Linked DNA regions of Homo sapiens: regions 1, 2, 3, 4 and 5 are each linked to region 6. The links are contacts of gene promoters, found by promoter capture Hi-C in blood cells and fetal thymus (Javierre and others, 2016). All regions are on one chromosome and are shown on one strand. The core of a region is centred on a gene start or on the middle of the fragment in contact, and the rest is flanking DNA. Distances in the headings are between cores, read along the strand shown.

Region 1 (2,700 bases), core at 43-2,542, 350 kb before region 6:
GGTTTGCTTTTTTCTGAATCATAAAATTAAACTTATCCTCCTTTTTGTTTTGGATGTTAGAAAACTTAGGACAAAATTTGTGGCAAATCACATTCATTTATTCTTTTATTTATTCAACTGAACTGAAGTGATGCTAAGATGGACTTATTTGTCCTCTACCTAGTTTTTCACAAGCAGGGATTCTAGACAGTTAATGTTGGAGGGTGCATGGTGCCATGGTTTAAGTCCCAGGATTAGACTGTTTGAGCTGGTAGCTCACCTTTGCCATAATTGACAAACTTGCCTCTGAAACTCAGGGTAAGCATTGTACAATGGAGATAATGATAGAACTTACCTCAATAATAAATGTGAGAATTAAATGAAACAATACTTTTTTTGCCCTTAGAAACAATTTATAAGAAAAAAAAAACCCATCAAAAAGTGGGTGAAGTATATGAACAGACACTTTTCAAAAGAAGACATTTATGCGGCCAACGAACATATGGAAAAAATGCTCATCATCACTGGTCATTAGAGAAATGCAAATCAAAACCACAATGAGATACCATCTCACTCCAGTTAGAATGGCAATCATTAAAAATCAGGCAACAACAGATGCTGGAGAGGTTGTGGAGAAATAGGAATGCTTTTACACTGTTGGTGAGAGTGTAAATTAGTACAACCATTGTGGAAGACAGTGTGGCGATTCCTTAAGGATCTAAAACCAGAAACACCATTTGACCCAGCAATCCCATTACTGGGTATATATCCAAAGGATTATAAATCATTCTACTATAAAGACACATGCAGCACTGGTCACAATAGCAAAGACTTGGAACCAACCCAAATGCCCATCAATGATAGACTGGATAAAGAAAATGTGGCACATATACACCATGGAATACTATGCAGCCATAAAAAATGATGAATTCATGTCCTTTGCAGGGACATGGATGAAGCTGGAAACCATAATTCTCAGCAAACTAACACAAGAGCAGAAAAACAAATACCACATATTCTCACTCATAAGTAGGGGTTGAACAATGAGAACACATGGACACAGGGAAGGGAACATTGCACACTGGGGCCTGTTGTGGGGAGGTATAGCATTAGAAGAAATACCTAACATAGATGACGGGTTGATGGGTGCAGCAAACCACCATGGCACGTGTATACCTATGTAACAAACCTGCATGTTCTGCACATGTATCCCAGAACTTAAAGTATTAAAAAAAAAGAACAAAAAGAAAAGAATCAGGGTTGAGTATATGGGAAGCACTCCATCAATTTTTGCTTTTATTAATATTATCAACAAATAATTATTTAATACCACTATATGCTAAGCAGGAGACTGGAGAGGGAGATTTCCACAGTGTCCCCTAATTTCATTTTGGATTATATCTTAACTCTGTCACCTTTTCTTCGAGTTCAACATTATTTAAATTCATCTTTTCTTGTTTTATGTATTTATATAAGCATTTATGCATTATTTTAAGAATAAGGTAGGATATAAATAAAAATGTTGTTTTTAGGATTATGTTCATGCCTAATTCTAGGCATATTTAAAGTAATAATCTGAAAGATAAAGTATTTGATAAACTAATTACCCCCTGAGAGCTGCATGATTTAAAATTCAAAAACACAGTAGTGAGAAAACCAAAATCTGAAGTCAGTGAACGCTGAAATTTGAGAGAGACTTTCTAAGTTTCTAAATTGAAATTATCTCACCGGGGCACGGCGGCTCATGCCTGTAATCTCAGCACTTTGGGAGGCTGAGGCTGGCGGATCACTTGAGGTCAGGAGTTCAAGACCGGTCTGGGCAACATGGTGAAACCCTATCTCTACAAAAAATAAAAAAAGTTAGCCGGGCGTGGTGGTGCATGCCTGTAGTCCCAGCTACTCGCGAGGCTGAAGCAGGAGAATCACTTGAACTCAGGCGGTGCAGGTTTCAGTGAGCTGAGATCGCACCCCTGCACTCCAGCCTGGGAGTGCAAGACTCTGTCACAAAACAAAACAAACAAAACACAACAAAACAACCCTTTTAGTTGTGTGAACGAAAGTTATCTGAAAAGCGAATTTGGAGGAAAGAGACTTTATTTCAGTGAACAGTTTGCAAACCAAGGAGATGAAGCCTTTGGTGTAAAACAAAGGTGCGTTTCAGAGAACAATGGGAGGGTTTGGGTTTTATATCAAAAATTCCCATCAGGGTTCCCAATCAGGTATATTTATACAAATTAAGGTTTGGCAAACTTGTGTAGTTCTGATCGGTCTCTATAGCTGGGTTCTGATTTGTCTGTATAGCTGAGTTCTGATTGGTTGATACTACTGAGCCCTTATTGATTGATACAGCTGAGCCCTGATCGTTGCGGTAGGTGAGCACTGATTGGGTTGGTTCAGGTGAGCTCTGAAAATCCCAAAGTTAAATAGAGGTGTGGGTTTTTGGGGAACTCAGAGAACCTGTGTGACCTAAGTCAGCAAATGACTGCTTGTCTCAGTTTAAAATTTGGGCCCAGATAACAACTCAGGATCTGTCTTAAAGGATTGGCTTGTTCAGGTTCATATTTGGTCACAGCTGGTACTCAAATTCCCTGCCATAAATCACCCTCTTCATATCTTTCACATTTAGTTAATTTCTATTCTTCTTATTTAATTTTACCTACTTAAAAAAATGTGAGCAGGGAAATCAAGTGTGTTATTATGCCAACAGATCTTCAGTGACTT
Region 2 (2,700 bases), core at 171-2,670, 330 kb before region 6:
CGCTTCAGGTGATGGAGACCCCATTTACCTTGATGTGATTATTACACATTGTATGCCTGTAGCAAAATATCTCACATAACCCATAAATATGTACACCTACTAGGAGCCCACATAAATTAAAAATAAAAAATTATTGATGAAAAGAAAATTAAACTTTTTCGAGGTCGGGGGTGGAGGTAGAGTTAATGTGTCACAGGGTACTCTGGCTGAACAGAAATAGTGTGACTACTTATTGGGACATTGTGATCAAGGACATATGGAAGGATTAACTGCAAGAATCAGTTTCAGACATGATCTTCCCTGGAGAATTCACTACAGTTTATTTCTCTGTCTTTTCACGACATCAGAGTCTGATGGGCAATATTTTCCTGAGTGACATGTGCCTAGAGAGGTATTGGAGGATGTAGAGAGACATCTGTTTTGATTTGTGACTTATAATATGCAAAGAACTGCAGAGAGAAAAGAGAAAGAGAGAGAGAGAGAGAAGGAGAGGAGAAAAAGAAAAGAGAGATCCAGTAGAGGGAAAACATAAGTCCTTGTTTTCTCCTTCTCTGTGCCAAGTAGGTATATGCTGCTGCTAGGACCATTTGGCCAGACTGGCAGTCAACAATGACAGCAGTCTAGCTGTGGCTTGGGGCCAGTGGGAGGCAGGCTGCGTGGCAGACTGAGCATGGGTGAGGGGCAGGTGGAAGTGGGAAGTACTAGAAGGAAATTGTTGCAGCCAGCATACAGATTTGGAAATTAAAGTTTAAGATCTGTGTGGCAAGGAATGAATGACCAAAAAAAAAAAAAAAAAAAAAATTCCTCTTCAAGCTGCTATTGGGCTTTGAGGTGAATGTGTTTCTGGTACATTTGCTGAAATGAAAAAAAATTAAGATGATAGGGCTATCCATTTGTGACCCATGTGGCTGCTCATGGACAGCCCCTATTTACGTAAACTAAGGGCGTGAACTCCTCCTCCTTCTTCAAGGCCACCTTCCTCTAGCTCATGTGGATAGGATGGTCTGCGTCTTTTCTGCTCCAGGTCACTCCAGGCCCCAGCTTGCTTCCGCTCTTGCCTTCATCTGCCCACTTCACCCTGGGCCTCTGCTGCCTTTGCCACTCTTGAAACTTGGGACAATCCCTCTCTTGCTTTATTTCCTTTATTCCCCCAAGTTATTGCTGCTACAAGGGTTTGTCATGCAGCAGCTTTCACTGAAGCTTTGGGGACAGAGGAGAGGGGTCACAGAATAGGCAATAACAGGAAACCCCTCCGAGAGTGTTCTTGCCTGTGGCCTTCACCAGCTGCTGTGAGACATGGCCTCTTCTTACTCGCCCTGTGGTGATGTTCTCTTTTTCCTGTTTCTTGTCTGAATTCCAGTCCTGCCCCACTCCTCTATCCTCAAGGACTATGTCTTAGTCCATGTAGGCTGCTATAACAAAATACCTTAAATTGGGTAATTAATAAATAATAGAAATTTATTTCTCACAGTTCTGGAAGTTAGGAAGTCCAAGGTGAAAGAGCTGGCAGATTTGGTGTCTGGTGAGGCTGCTGTCTGCTTCCAAGATGGTGCCTTGTTTCTGTGCCCTCAGGAGGGGACAAACACTGTGTCCTCACATGGCAAAAGGGACAAAAGGGCAAGGCAGCTTCCTGAAGCTTCTTTTATAAAAGCGTTAATCCCATTCACAAGCGCAGAGTCCTCGTGAGCTGTCCAAATCTCCATCTTCTAGTATACCATCACCTTGGCAATTAGGTTTCAACATATACATTGTGTAGGGACACATACATTTAAACCACAGCAGGCTGCAATTAAGCACCAGGTCTGGGGTCCCGACTTTCTTTGTGGCTGATCTTCTACTACATTTGGGGCCTCCAATCAATCTCTTCACCTCATTCAGAGTCCCTTTTGTGTAGTGAGGGTTTAATAGTGATACATATCACCCCAAGCAGGTTCCTAACTTTCAGAGTGAAACTTGAGCCTTTGACTTCTAATTCCTCACTTGACATTTCCTCTATTCACTTTTCTTTCCCCATTCTGAGGGTCACTGAGCCTTCTGGTTTACATCAAGCTAATCTCTGTAGACCCATGTTGAGGGCATCAGTTCCTTTGTATGTAAAATGAGAAATCTTTAATCTGGAATCTTTCTTTACAAGTCTAAACCAGAGCCCAGAAAAATTGATATATATGTGTGTGTGTGTGTGTGTGTGTGTGTATATAATTTACATATATGCGTATGTAAGATTATTCATTTTAGTTTAGGTTGTGATGGAAAAAGATAGAAAAGAACTTAACTATCTATCAATAGAGGAAAAATTAGACAGATTATGGTTCATAATACAATAAAGTACTACGCAACCATGAAAAAGAATTAAGAGTCTCTATGTTTGCTTTTCTTGAATAATGTCAGTAGTTTATTATAAATTGAAAAAGCACCATCTGAATCAAAATGTAGAACATGATTTTTAAAAGTCTCTCCCTCCTTCTCTCTCTGTTTCTCTTTCAATGTAGAAATAACTTGATAAACATAGAAAAAAGTCGAATGGGAAGTCTTCAGACTGCTTCTCACTGATGGAGTGGGAGAGTAGTGCTTTTAAATCTTACTTTACATAATTTTCCAAGGAGGTAGTTAAGTTGCAGAATCATGAATGTCCCTTTTTAAAAATATTCTTCAAGTTAAAATATTTACAAATATAGCATAATAGGAAACCAACTGATAAAA
Region 3 (2,700 bases), core at 41-2,540, 500 kb before region 6:
AACAGGATTCCAAGCCACATAAGTGGCTCTGGCATTCCTGCTTTTAACCTTTCTACTATATCAGTAGCCTCTCAGAGATCATGGGCTCATCACGGAACTTCAGCTTCATGTCTGATTGTTTCCTTAGGATATACTCAGAGAAGAATCACGAGTGCCAAGAGAGACCATGAGGCAAACTGCTCTCCATTGAAGGTATACCAGCCTACCCTTCGTGAGCTAAACACAACCTCACTCTTGCCAGCATTGTAACTGACTTTTTAAATCTAGTAATCTGCACTTCTTTGATGCCATGAAGTCAGTATTATTTTCATGTCTTGGCCATCTTAAGTTCCTGTTTTGTGAATATTCTATTCCTATTCCTTGTTATAAAGGTTTTCAGAGTTAAGACATGTTAAATAGAAATTATTTTGGAAGGTTCTGTGATTCAAAATATCAAAGAGTATTGCTGACTAGTTGTTTCAGTGGGACCCTACAGACAGGCAGAACCCTGGGGGAAATCACCGGAAACTAGGGATGAGGGCTCAGCTGTAAACACCTGCAACCACAGAACTGAGCAGACCTTCCCAGCAGACCCATGAATAGCCTGAAATTGAGATTTATCCCATACTGCAGGGGTGACACTTATCCAATGGCTAGAATATTTATCACTGCTACTCAGAGCACTCTCACTTCATGATATCAGCATGCCTGGGGAAACAAGTCAATAAATTCAATGTTTGTGTAGCGAGGCCAGAATCACAGAAGAAACATGAAAGCTCTTAAGGGATCTCAGACCTTTGGATTCATCTCACAAATTATTTCTATTCTATAAGGCATACCTGGTTAGTGATAAGAATAACCCACTAGTCAGAAATTCCACATGAACAGTGTTGAACAAACACTATTAAACTCTTATTTTCTAAATCCTCTGTTAATCAGCTATCAAAAGCAAATTACCTCATGCCAGGTACTTTGCAATAAAAACCAAGCACTTAAGGCCTCTGATTACTTGGGTTGGAATTAAAAGTATTTCATTCACCTACTTAGGAGTCACTTCTTAGATTGGACCACTCTCTCCAAATGGCTCATGTCATCTATCAGGGTCAATGTTCAATCCTTTCAATGTCTTAAGAGTACCCTTTTTGCCTGGCTAATCCCCAAACTCCAGTGACACCCTATTTGGAGGCTTTCGTCCCTTTATGTACCAACTACAGAAGAAAACTAGAGTGGGAGGAATAAAAGACACTCTCCCAGATGAGTGTCATAATAAATACCAAAGCTATTTTTAATGGGTGTTAACACAATGTTTGAGAATTAGTAAAGTAAGCAAGGGCTGCTTTAAAAAGTTGATCTGGACATGCACAGGTGGCCCTCCATATCCATGGGTTCTGCATCCATGGAATCAACCAACCAAGTGCATCACTTGAGGTCAGGAGTTCGAGACCAGTCAGGACAACATGGTGAAATCCTGTCTCTACTAAAAATACAAAAATTAGCCAGGCTTGGTGGCACATACCTGTAATCCCAGCTACTCTGGAGGCTGAGGCAGGAGAATCACTTGAACCTGGGAAGTGGAGGTTGCAGTGAGCCGAGATTACATCACTGCACTCCAGCCTGGGCGACAGAGTGGGAATCTGTCTCAAAAAAAAAAAAAAAATTGAGGAAAAAAATGAATGGTTGGATGGTTGTGTACTGAACATGTACAGACTTTTTTCCTTGTCATTATTCCCCAAACAGTGTACTATAACAACTATCTACTTAGTATTTACATTGAATTGGGGTATTTTAAGTCATATAGAGATGAGTTCAAATATACAGGAGGATGTGCATAGATTATATCCAAATACTATACCATTGGATATCAGAAACCTGAGCATCCTTAGATTTTGGTATCTGCAGGGGTCCTGGAACCCACTACCTGGAACCAATCCCCTGCACGATACTGAGGGACTACTGATTTATATTGAGGTGGGTGGGGGGTGGGGAGAGAAGAAGGATGAATGATTAAATAAAATCTTCAACCCTAATTTTTTTTTATCAATCTTACATGCTATCCAAAATCATGGTTAATTTTTTACCAGAACGTCAATTTTGCTAGTAGCAAAATATAGCTATTAGCTATAACATAGCTAATATAGAAAATTACTCCTAGTATGGAAGCCTACTTGGGACACTAAGTTTCATGCAGAAGGCTCCATGAGTTTACAGAATCTCAAGGAAGAAAGGCCCCTAGAGATGACACCAGAAATGAGAGTGGCTTGCTCATGAAAATTGGACAGCATGTTCCAAGCAGAGGGAACAGCATGGAGAAGAAAAATCATACTCTATCCACGTGCAGAAACTGGCAATTAGTTTTGTATTACTAAAACACAAATGTTTAACTTGGGGGTCCACAAACAAGGATATGTTGGCAAATGGTATTTGCTGTGCATGATGACAACTTGAACTTTCATCAGGTTTTTTATGGGTCTATGAAATGGGTCAAGGGGACTTAGCTAAGAATGACTGTGGGTAAAATGCATGACAAGGAGGGATACAGACAGGAGATGAATCTCTCAGGGTCCAAGAGACCAGGGTAAGATGTGCAGATTCCTTCCTGTGTATGATGGAAATGTTTTACAGGGTCTGAAGGGGGAAGTTTAGAAGGACAGCCTGCTGAAATGGGGACAGCTTGAAATGCAGAGCAAGGCAGAATGCAGACAACACTCCAAGGCATCTAAG
Region 4 (2,700 bases), core at 176-2,675, 420 kb before region 6:
CATTATCTTAGCCAAGTTACATTTCTTGTGCATTTGAGTTTGTAAACTGAGATTTGTACTACATTAGCATTGCAATGCTAATAAAATTGCATGTATATTTGACAACATACCTGGGACAGTCTTCTATATCAGCACATATAAATCTGCCTCCTTTAAAAATGTCTTCTTAAGATGGCACGATATAGGATTTATCTAATCATATGGCTGGATGTTTAAGTTATATCAATGTTTCACTCTTTGGAATGTTGCAGCAGTAAATACTCTTTTACATAAACCAACTCTTATGAGCACAGCCTCTTTAAACAATCTTTTTGTGTACCTAGATACCAAGTGTTGAATTACCTTCCAATTGGAAACACCTCCTCCCCTACCCATATGAGAGATCATATGCTAAAACTCATGTTCAGTTTTCAATTATTTTAGCACTCACATTTTTATCAAATAAAATAGCATGTAATGAAATATGTGGCAAGTCTACATTTCAAAGAAATAAAGTTGAGGAAGTCTGAACGGGAGAAGGTAGAAGTCCAGAAGCTCTGCTGCTCTGCTGAAATTTCTCCCCACCTTGGGGACTTACCTTTCCCCTGCCTCTGCCTGTGAGTCAATTTGAGGAGACAGGGCTGGATGCTGCACCCCGCCTCATGTTCACTGGTCAGGAAAATCACAGACAACATTTAGGATTTGGGTCTGGCAAAGCCAGTTAGCCCAGGTTTGCTTTATGGCTTTTTTGACTCCTGCTTCTGTGATTTAATACCAAGTCTTGTAAAGTTAGTTGTGTTTTCTTTTGTCTTTCCATAATATATAGTATACAACTCATTTATAGCACTTACCACTTTGTTCTTTCTTAAAAATGCTGTTCCAGAAGAAGAACATTTCCTTACTTAGCTTTGAGATCTACAGCACTTATTCATAAAATTTGGCAAGGACTAGTTTTTCCATAAGGCCTTCTGAATGAATACATGAATCACACATTTGCTTAACAACTTAAATATAGTAGACACAAGCTCATCTTCAAGAATGTAGATACTTTAAAAAGGTACAAATGTACCTATTTTGGTCTCCTCTTGTCTTCTTTGAACCAATTATACAGGTCTGTAAGTGTTTCTGCTTTGGAATGGCCAGTTTGCTTTATATAGATTCATTGAAAGGGCTGGAATTGACCCAAAGGTCCCCCATTATATTCTTGCAGCCACCTTTGGTGGATGATATAATGAAAGCAGCGTATGTACCTATAAAAACTGCTACTGTATATGAAGATGGGCTTGGGAAATGTTGAACAAAAATGGAAATATGTCTGCTTTTTACATCTGAGTGAGGAGAATCAAAAGCTGCCCATGCTACCCAAACTCTCAATTTTGTTACCAGAATGAGCGGGTGGGAGACACAAGAATGAAAGAAATGAAGAATGAAACACAAAAGGAAATAGAGTGGAGAGCACGTGATAACTGCCAAATACATAGTGAAGGAAATCAACCACATGAAGATAATATAGTTTCTTTCTTTAAAATTTTTATGCTCACATAATTTCAGACCTGTACGTTCTCAAAAAGATGAAAATTAAAAGTTGCTGACATGATGCCACTTACCTGTAAATATTTCAGGTCTATATCCTAAAATCAAGAACCTTCTTTTATATAACCAAGTGTAATATTAAATCAGAAAATTAACATTAATACATGACTGTTACACAGATTTTTCAACTTGTTCCAATAATTCCCTTTTATAAACAACAAACACAAATGACAACAACAACGGATTACACATTGCATTAAGTTTGGTCTCCTTTAACCTGGAATAATTCCTCAATCTTTCCTTGTGTTTTATGGTACTGACGTTTTGGAAGTGTACAGCCAGCTATATTGTAGAGTGTTCCTCAATTTGAATTTGTCTGATGTTTCCTCGTAATTAGATTCAGGTTACACATTTTGGCAGGAATTCCACAGAAGTAATGCTGTGCCCTTCTCAGTGCCTTGTCTTAGAAGGTACACGATATTGAAAGGTACCATTACTGATGACGTTTAATCATTTGGTTAAGGTGGTTTCTGCCAGATTTCTCCACTAAATAGTTACTACTATTTTTTTTCCATTGCAATTAATACATATTTGAGAGAGAAACTTTGAGACTATGTAGATATCCTGTTGCTCATCAAATTTACACATTCTAGTTTAGCATCCATGAATGATTCTTGTCTGAATCAATTATTACAACCATCGTTGCTAAATGATGACTTTACAAGTTCATCATTCTTTTCATATTTATTAATTTGCTTTGTACTGTAAGAAGGAGCTTTCTCTTCTTTTATAGGCATGTATGTATGTATGTGTGTGTAGGTAGCTCATTATGAACTTACGGATTCTTATTTTATTCAATGAGTTATAATCAGTTACTGTCATTATTATTTTGATACTCAAATTTCCAAGATTTGACTAATGGGAAGCCCTTTAACATGGCTTTTTGGCTTTTTCTTATGTACCCACAATTCTTTGAACACTTTCTTTTTTTTGGCTTATTATTTCTTTTTCTTTTTTTTACTATTATACTTTAAGTTCTAGGGTACATGTGCACAATGTGCAGGTTTGTTACATATGTATACATGTGCCATGTTGGTGTCTTTGAGCACTTTCTTACTTTCCGGCACAAAAAGATATTCCAGACTCAAGTTGTACTTTCCCTGCCCTGGATATATTTTAAGGGGAGTA
Region 5 (2,700 bases), core at 121-2,620, 410 kb before region 6:
AATTGAATTATTCACTTAAAATTGGTGAATTTTATTATATTTAAATTGTACTTCAATAAAGGCAGAGTAAATAAGAAAATTTTGAGCTACAATTGATGTCTTATAAGTTAGCTTTCAAAAATTGTATGAGTATATACACTCATTTAAAGTCAAACAGAACAAAGGGTATAAAATGAAAAGCAAAAGTTGTTTTCCCTTCAAGTTTCCACTTCTTATTCATATTACTTAGTATCACTCAACAGACATAATTTCTTATGTAAATTTCCAAAAGTCTTTAATGTACAGTATAAACAAACATTGATCAGGTATGCCTATGCTTTAAAAGTTTTCTTTTCTCTTTTTTTCTTTTTATCCAAGTAGACTCATATTCTATGACTAAAAAAAAACCATGGACACTGGAAAGTCAGGTTTACTTTCTTTTTTCTTCTTATTGGCTGCATATTCTTCTATTGCATTGATTATTCTAATTGATTTAGGCACTCCTATACTGTGAGATATTCAGATTTCTTCTACGTTCTGCTAAAATAAAAAATGTTACAATAGATACTCATTGGCAGATATTTTTCATATCTTGTGCTTGCTCTTTAAGATAGATTCCTAGCCAAGGACTTGTGGGGCCATTGTTTATATAAATTAGAAATTTTGATGAATGTAGTCAAGCTGCGTTTCTGAAAACTTATTCTCTCCAACAATACCGGTTTATACATATTCATGCTGATTTGGGGAATTATCAGACATTTTAATCTTCACCAATCTGAAAGGTAAGAAAATGCTACCTCCTTGTTTTTCACTAAATTGTGACATTTTCCTTGCAATAAAATAGGATAGAACTGTTAGGACTGTCTTTGATAACCAGTAGACTTCAGAATGGATATATCTGCCTCCTAGAACCCCTAACTTCTGATGAAGACCTAAATGATTTCTACAGCTGCTGAGATAAATCATCTTCTTTTTTTTCTTTTTTAGGAATCTATCTTCTTTTCCTTTCATGGTCATATTGCAGTATGTTTTCTGTATAGATCTACCACTTTAGAGCTTACAGAAGTAGAATATGTATTCACATGTATCTTGGAGTTTATGCTTTTAGTCTCTTCCTTTAAATAGTTTTGCCCTCCCCAGTGTTTCCTTCCCCCATGGGTATTTAATCATGTATACGACAAACCAGCACTACATGTGATTCTCCTAGTAATGCCATATGGTTTCCCTGAATGGGAATAGATGGAGGAATTTATTGACTTTGATCATCGCACTATAACAAATACAATTATGGCACAGGAAACTTCCTACTTTAGTTCAAGAGAAAATGGTGTAACCCCCTCCTTTGGATGATTTGTGTGTCTGAATGAATCAGGAGGTTTTCTCCAGATCCCATCCTCTTTCATACGCAATCATTGAGATGACATGTCCATATGCATTACTAGTGAAGGAGTTCTCTCCACCCCCACCTTGCCAATCAAATAATCACTGCTTAAAACAGAGGGAATGATTTAGCAGTTGAAGTGTTGGCTTTGAAACACTTAGACTTGGTGGCATCTTTTAAAGTTTCATCAGGATTGACTTAGTCCCTCATCCTGGGAATATCACAACCACATGGAACCCTAAGTCATTGCAGAAGAGCTGTTTTTGTAAGAAACCCCAAACCTGGAGGCCCCATTTTCTCTGAGATTGTTGAACATACAAAGCATGTGTTTGTGAATTGTGGCCTTAACTGTCAGGCCTCTGAGCCCAAGCCAAGCCATCACATCCCCTGTGACTTGCACGTATATACGCCCAGATGGCCTGAAGTAACTGAAGAATCACAAAAGAAGTGAATATGTCCTGCCTCACCTTAACTGATGACATTCCACCACAAAAGAAGTGTAAATGGCCGGTCCTTGCCTTAAGTGATGACATTACCTTGTGAAAGTCCTTTTCCTGGCTCATCCTGGCTCAAAAAGCACCCCCACTGAGCACCTTGCGACCCCCACTCCTGCCCGCCAGAGAACCCCCCTTTGACTGTAATTTTCCTTTACCTACCCAAATCCTATAAAACGGCCCCACCCCTATCTCCCTTCGCTGACTCTCTTTTCGGACTCAGCCTGCCTGCACCCAGGTGAAATAAACAGCCATGTTGCTCACACAAAGCCTGTTTGGTGGTATCTTCACACGGACGCGCATGAAATTTGGTGCCGTGACTTGGATCGGGGGACCTCCCTTGGGAGATCAATCCCCTGTCCTCCTGTTCTTTGCTCCGTGAGAAAGATCCACCTACGACCTCAGGTCCTCAGACCCACCAGCCCAAGGAACATCTCACCAATTTTAAATCAGGTAAGCGGCCTCTTCTTACTCTCCTCTCCAACCTCTCTCACTGTCCCTCAACCACTTTCTCCTTTCCACTCTTCAATCTCTCCCTTCTCTTAATTTCAATTCCTTTCATTTTCTGGGAGAGACAAAGGAGACACATTTTATCCATGGACCCAAAACTCCGGTGCCAGTCACGGACTGGGAAGGCAGCTTTCCCTTGGTGTTTAATCATTGCAGGGACACCTCTCTGATTATACACCCACGTTTCAAGAGTGTCAGACCACGCAGGGACGCCTGCCTTGGTCCTTCACCCTTATCGGCAAGTCCCACTTTTCTGGGGAAGGGGCAAGTACCTCAACCCCTTCTCTCCTTGTCCCTACCCCTTCTCTGCTTTTCCGGGGACAGGGCAAGTACCCC
Region 6 (2,700 bases), core at 156-2,655:
CCAGAGACAGGCTTTAAGAGCCAGAGTGCCACTTTTCTTTTTTCCAATTTTGGCAAAAGAGAGCAAAGAAAGCCTCCTAGCTCCCTGAGTAAGGTTAGAGCAAGCAGCATCCTCTAGCTGATCTACAATAGACACTTAGCATGAGAGAGAAATAAACCTTTGATGTGTTAAACTGCTGAGATACAGGAAATAAGGAGGTTGTTTGTTATTATAACATCCCAGCCTATACTTTGCTTCCTAATTTGGTGAGAAAATAGAAGCAATCAGAAGAGAACTTCTACAACCTCCCATGACCACATGTGCGACTGATTAGTCACCCTATACTCTGTCCTCCTCCAATATTTGAATGAATTCTCCATATTCCTATCTAAAGCCCATCTTTTATCTTGTACACCAGATGGGAATATTTTTCCTTACTCAAGGCCGACATTCAAATATTTCTCTTCTTTGTCTCTTACATAATCAATGTTTCCCTTTCTACTAGATCCCCTTCATCAGTAAACATACATAATATCTCCTGTTTTGAAACAATCTCTCCACTAGTTAACAGCACCCCAACCCCATCTCCAATGTGCTGTAATACTTGCTCCTATTCTCTTCGGAATTATCTCACTAGGTTCTGCTTGGCCCACTACACTGAAAACTGCTTTTGTCAGGGTAACCAATAATATTGAATTTACTAAGTCTGGAAGTCAAACCTTGGTCCTCACATTGACTTGGTTGACCATATTCCTTCCTTCTTGAAATATTTTTGTACATGGCTTCCAGGACACAACTATCCTACCTACTAATCCTCTTCCTACCTCACTGGCTGTTCCCTCTTGATCTCACAAAGCCTAAATGTTGGGGTTCAGGTCTTGGGTGTCTTTTCTTCTTCATTCACACCCTCTTGCCAGGTGACCTCATCCAGTTTCATGGTTTTACACTGTCAACTGAAGAATAACGAGGTTCATAAATTTAGAAAGGAGAGCTTTATTTTTCATAAAGAGTACTGAGTGTCAAGTATGTGCCAAGCAAGGTGTCTGCCACTGACGGAGCAATGCCCAAGCAGCGGACACCAAGGCCAAGAAGGCGAAGGCTGGACAGAAGGTCCTGAGAAAACCGTGAGAATATGGAGGAGGGGGAGGAGGAATAAGAACAGGAGGAGGAGGGGGAGGAGGAATAAGAACAGGAGGAGGAGGAAGAGGAGGGGGAGAGAGGAAGAGGGGCAGGAGGAAGAGGAAGAGGAGAAAGCGGAAGTGGGGGAGGAGGAGGAGGAGTTGGAAGGGGAGGAGGAAGAGGGGGAGCAGGAAGAGGGGCAGAAGGAAGAAGAAGAGGGGGAGGAGAAAGAGATAGAAGAGTAAGAGGAGGGGGAAGAAAGACAAGGGGAAGGGGAGGAGGAGGAGGACGGGGAGGAGCTTCGCCGCGGCCTGCTCCGCCCAGCCGGGGTCGGTGGCCGCATGGCTTCGGTCTCCTCTGCGACCTTCTCGGGCCACGGGGCTCGGTCCCTACTGCAGTTCCTGCGGCTGGTAGGGCAGCTCAAGGTGAGCGGGCACCAGGCCGGGAGGCCGCGGCCGAGCGGGCGGGACTGTGGGGCGGCGGAGCTTCCGGCCTCCCCGCTCGGCCGGCGGTCTTTGCCCTTCCTGCGCCGCGTCCGCCACGCCGAATTCCGGAAAGGCCCCAGTCCTGCGGATGCGGCCGCGCGTTGCCGACGGTGGACGGAGGAAGCAGCCGGCGGGACAGGCTGGCCAGCTGGGGCGGCCCGGAGTCTGAGCCTAGAGCCTGGCGCCGCGAGGTCCGCACTGCAGCCGCGCCAGTTCCCGGAGAGCAGCCGGCCTGGCCCTGCCTGCACTGAGCTTTTCCGGGGCTCACGACCCCAGAACTCGTGTGTGTGTGTGTGTGTGTGTGTGCTCACGACCCCAGAACTCGTGTGTGTGTGTGTGTGTGTGTAAAGCGCGGCTGCTTCTGAGCACGGGTGGGAAGAACAGAATCTGTCGGCTCCTCAGATTTTAAGTGGAGCTTTTTATGTCTGTCTCACAGTTACTTCCAGAAACAAGACTTTTCTCCCGGCCACCCCCCAAACGGGATTTAATGTAATACACACGAGTTTCATCATGTGCGTCTTCCCCGTCTCTCTCCCAAGTTCAAAGTAAATTATCCGTTTCATGCCACTCTGACTACTATTTATAACATTCCTTAGAGATGTAGAATTCTGAGGAAGAAATGCAGTTTCACAAGATGAAGTTATGATGTGAATAAAAGGAAGAGTCACGGCTGGTAGCATCAAGCAATTAGAAGTGCCCTTATCCCTTGTGCCTCAGAATTTGGAAGCCTATCACTCGTTCACGTTCAGACCCTTCAATACAGTGTTTTCTGCTTGTGTAGGATTATTTGAAGGCAAAAAGCCGCAACTCTTGTTCGGAAAAATGCAGTTTTGTTTTTGTTTAAAGGACTTGCATATGTTCCATAATTATACATCAGTAACAGAATAATTTGACGAATGGACTTTGTGACTTATCTCTCTCTGTCTTCTACCCCTTTCATTCTCTGAGCTCTCTAGTTCATTTGATTCCAGATGTCTATCATTTTAGCTAGTTTAGCAAAACATTTTGTAATAGGTTCTGAAATTATGACCCGGCTTCTGTGTGTTATATCCTGGACATCTCTTGAAGAGCATAGCAGATAGTTAATATTTGTTCTTTAAAACTTCTTTTTCTTCTT

What was found. Contacts are between HindIII fragments. The CHiCAGO score rates a contact against its expected background, and 5 or more counts as called.
Region 1: a contact is called between a fragment that was not itself captured here and the fragment with the promoter of HDDC2 in region 6, in 1 of 17 cell types (naive CD8 T cells). The highest score is 5.4, in naive CD8 T cells.
Region 2: a fragment that was not itself captured here is called in contact with the fragment with the promoter of HDDC2 in region 6 in 1 of 17 cell types (naive B cells); the score reaches 6.2 in naive B cells.
Region 3: a fragment that was not itself captured here is called in contact with the fragment with the promoter of HDDC2 in region 6 in 9 of 17 cell types (total B cells, total CD4 T cells, fetal thymus and 6 more); the score reaches 14.2 in total B cells.
Region 4: a fragment that was not itself captured here is called in contact with the fragment with the promoter of HDDC2 in region 6 in 12 of 17 cell types (total B cells, naive CD8 T cells, total CD4 T cells and 9 more); the score reaches 16.6 in total B cells.
Region 5: a contact is called between a fragment that was not itself captured here and the fragment with the promoter of HDDC2 in region 6, in 1 of 17 cell types (naive CD8 T cells). The highest score is 5.3, in naive CD8 T cells.

The regions. Positions count from the first base shown.
Region 1 is chr6:125,652,153-125,654,852 of GRCh38, reverse strand. The region is part of intron 3 of HEY2-AS1 (HEY2 antisense RNA 1); the gene reads left to right. Among named protein-coding and RNA genes, the nearest start is that of LINC02523, 21 kb to the left of the region's middle. The HindIII fragment of the contact is 4,411 bases long and covers 1-2,700 here.
Region 2 is chr6:125,629,293-125,631,992 of GRCh38, reverse strand. The region is part of intron 4 of HEY2-AS1 (HEY2 antisense RNA 1); the gene reads left to right. Among named protein-coding and RNA genes, the nearest start is that of LINC02523, 44 kb to the left of the region's middle. The HindIII fragment of the contact is 436 bases long and covers 1,203-1,638 here.
Region 3 is chr6:125,795,593-125,798,292 of GRCh38, reverse strand. The region is part of intron 1 of NCOA7 (nuclear receptor coactivator 7); the gene reads right to left. It overlaps NCOA7-AS1 (NCOA7 antisense RNA 1), which reads left to right. Exons shown (of 3, transcript NR_126386.1): 3 at 128-432. Among named protein-coding and RNA genes, the nearest start is that of NCOA7, 6.0 kb to the right of the region's middle. The HindIII fragment of the contact is 5,504 bases long and covers 1-2,700 here.
Region 4 is chr6:125,725,646-125,728,345 of GRCh38, reverse strand. All of the region lies in intron 1 of HEY2-AS1 (HEY2 antisense RNA 1), which reads left to right. Among named protein-coding and RNA genes, the nearest start is that of HEY2-AS1, 22 kb to the left of the region's middle. The HindIII fragment of the contact is 6,410 bases long and covers 1-2,700 here.
Region 5 is chr6:125,706,773-125,709,472 of GRCh38, reverse strand. All of the region lies in intron 2 of HEY2-AS1 (HEY2 antisense RNA 1), which reads left to right. All of the region lies in intron 3 of LINC02523 (long intergenic non-protein coding RNA 2523), which reads right to left. Among named protein-coding and RNA genes, the nearest start is that of LINC02523, 34 kb to the right of the region's middle. RefSeq lists enhancers at 1,284-1,829, 1,830-2,376. The HindIII fragment of the contact is 7,752 bases long and covers 1-2,700 here.
Region 6 is chr6:125,300,672-125,303,371 of GRCh38, reverse strand. HDDC2 (HD domain containing 2) reads left to right here and starts at 1,405. Exons shown (of 6, transcript NM_016063.3): 1 at 1,405-1,523. The coding sequence starts at 1,440. RefSeq lists a silencer at 1,376-1,715. The HindIII fragment of the contact is 13,888 bases long and covers 1-2,700 here.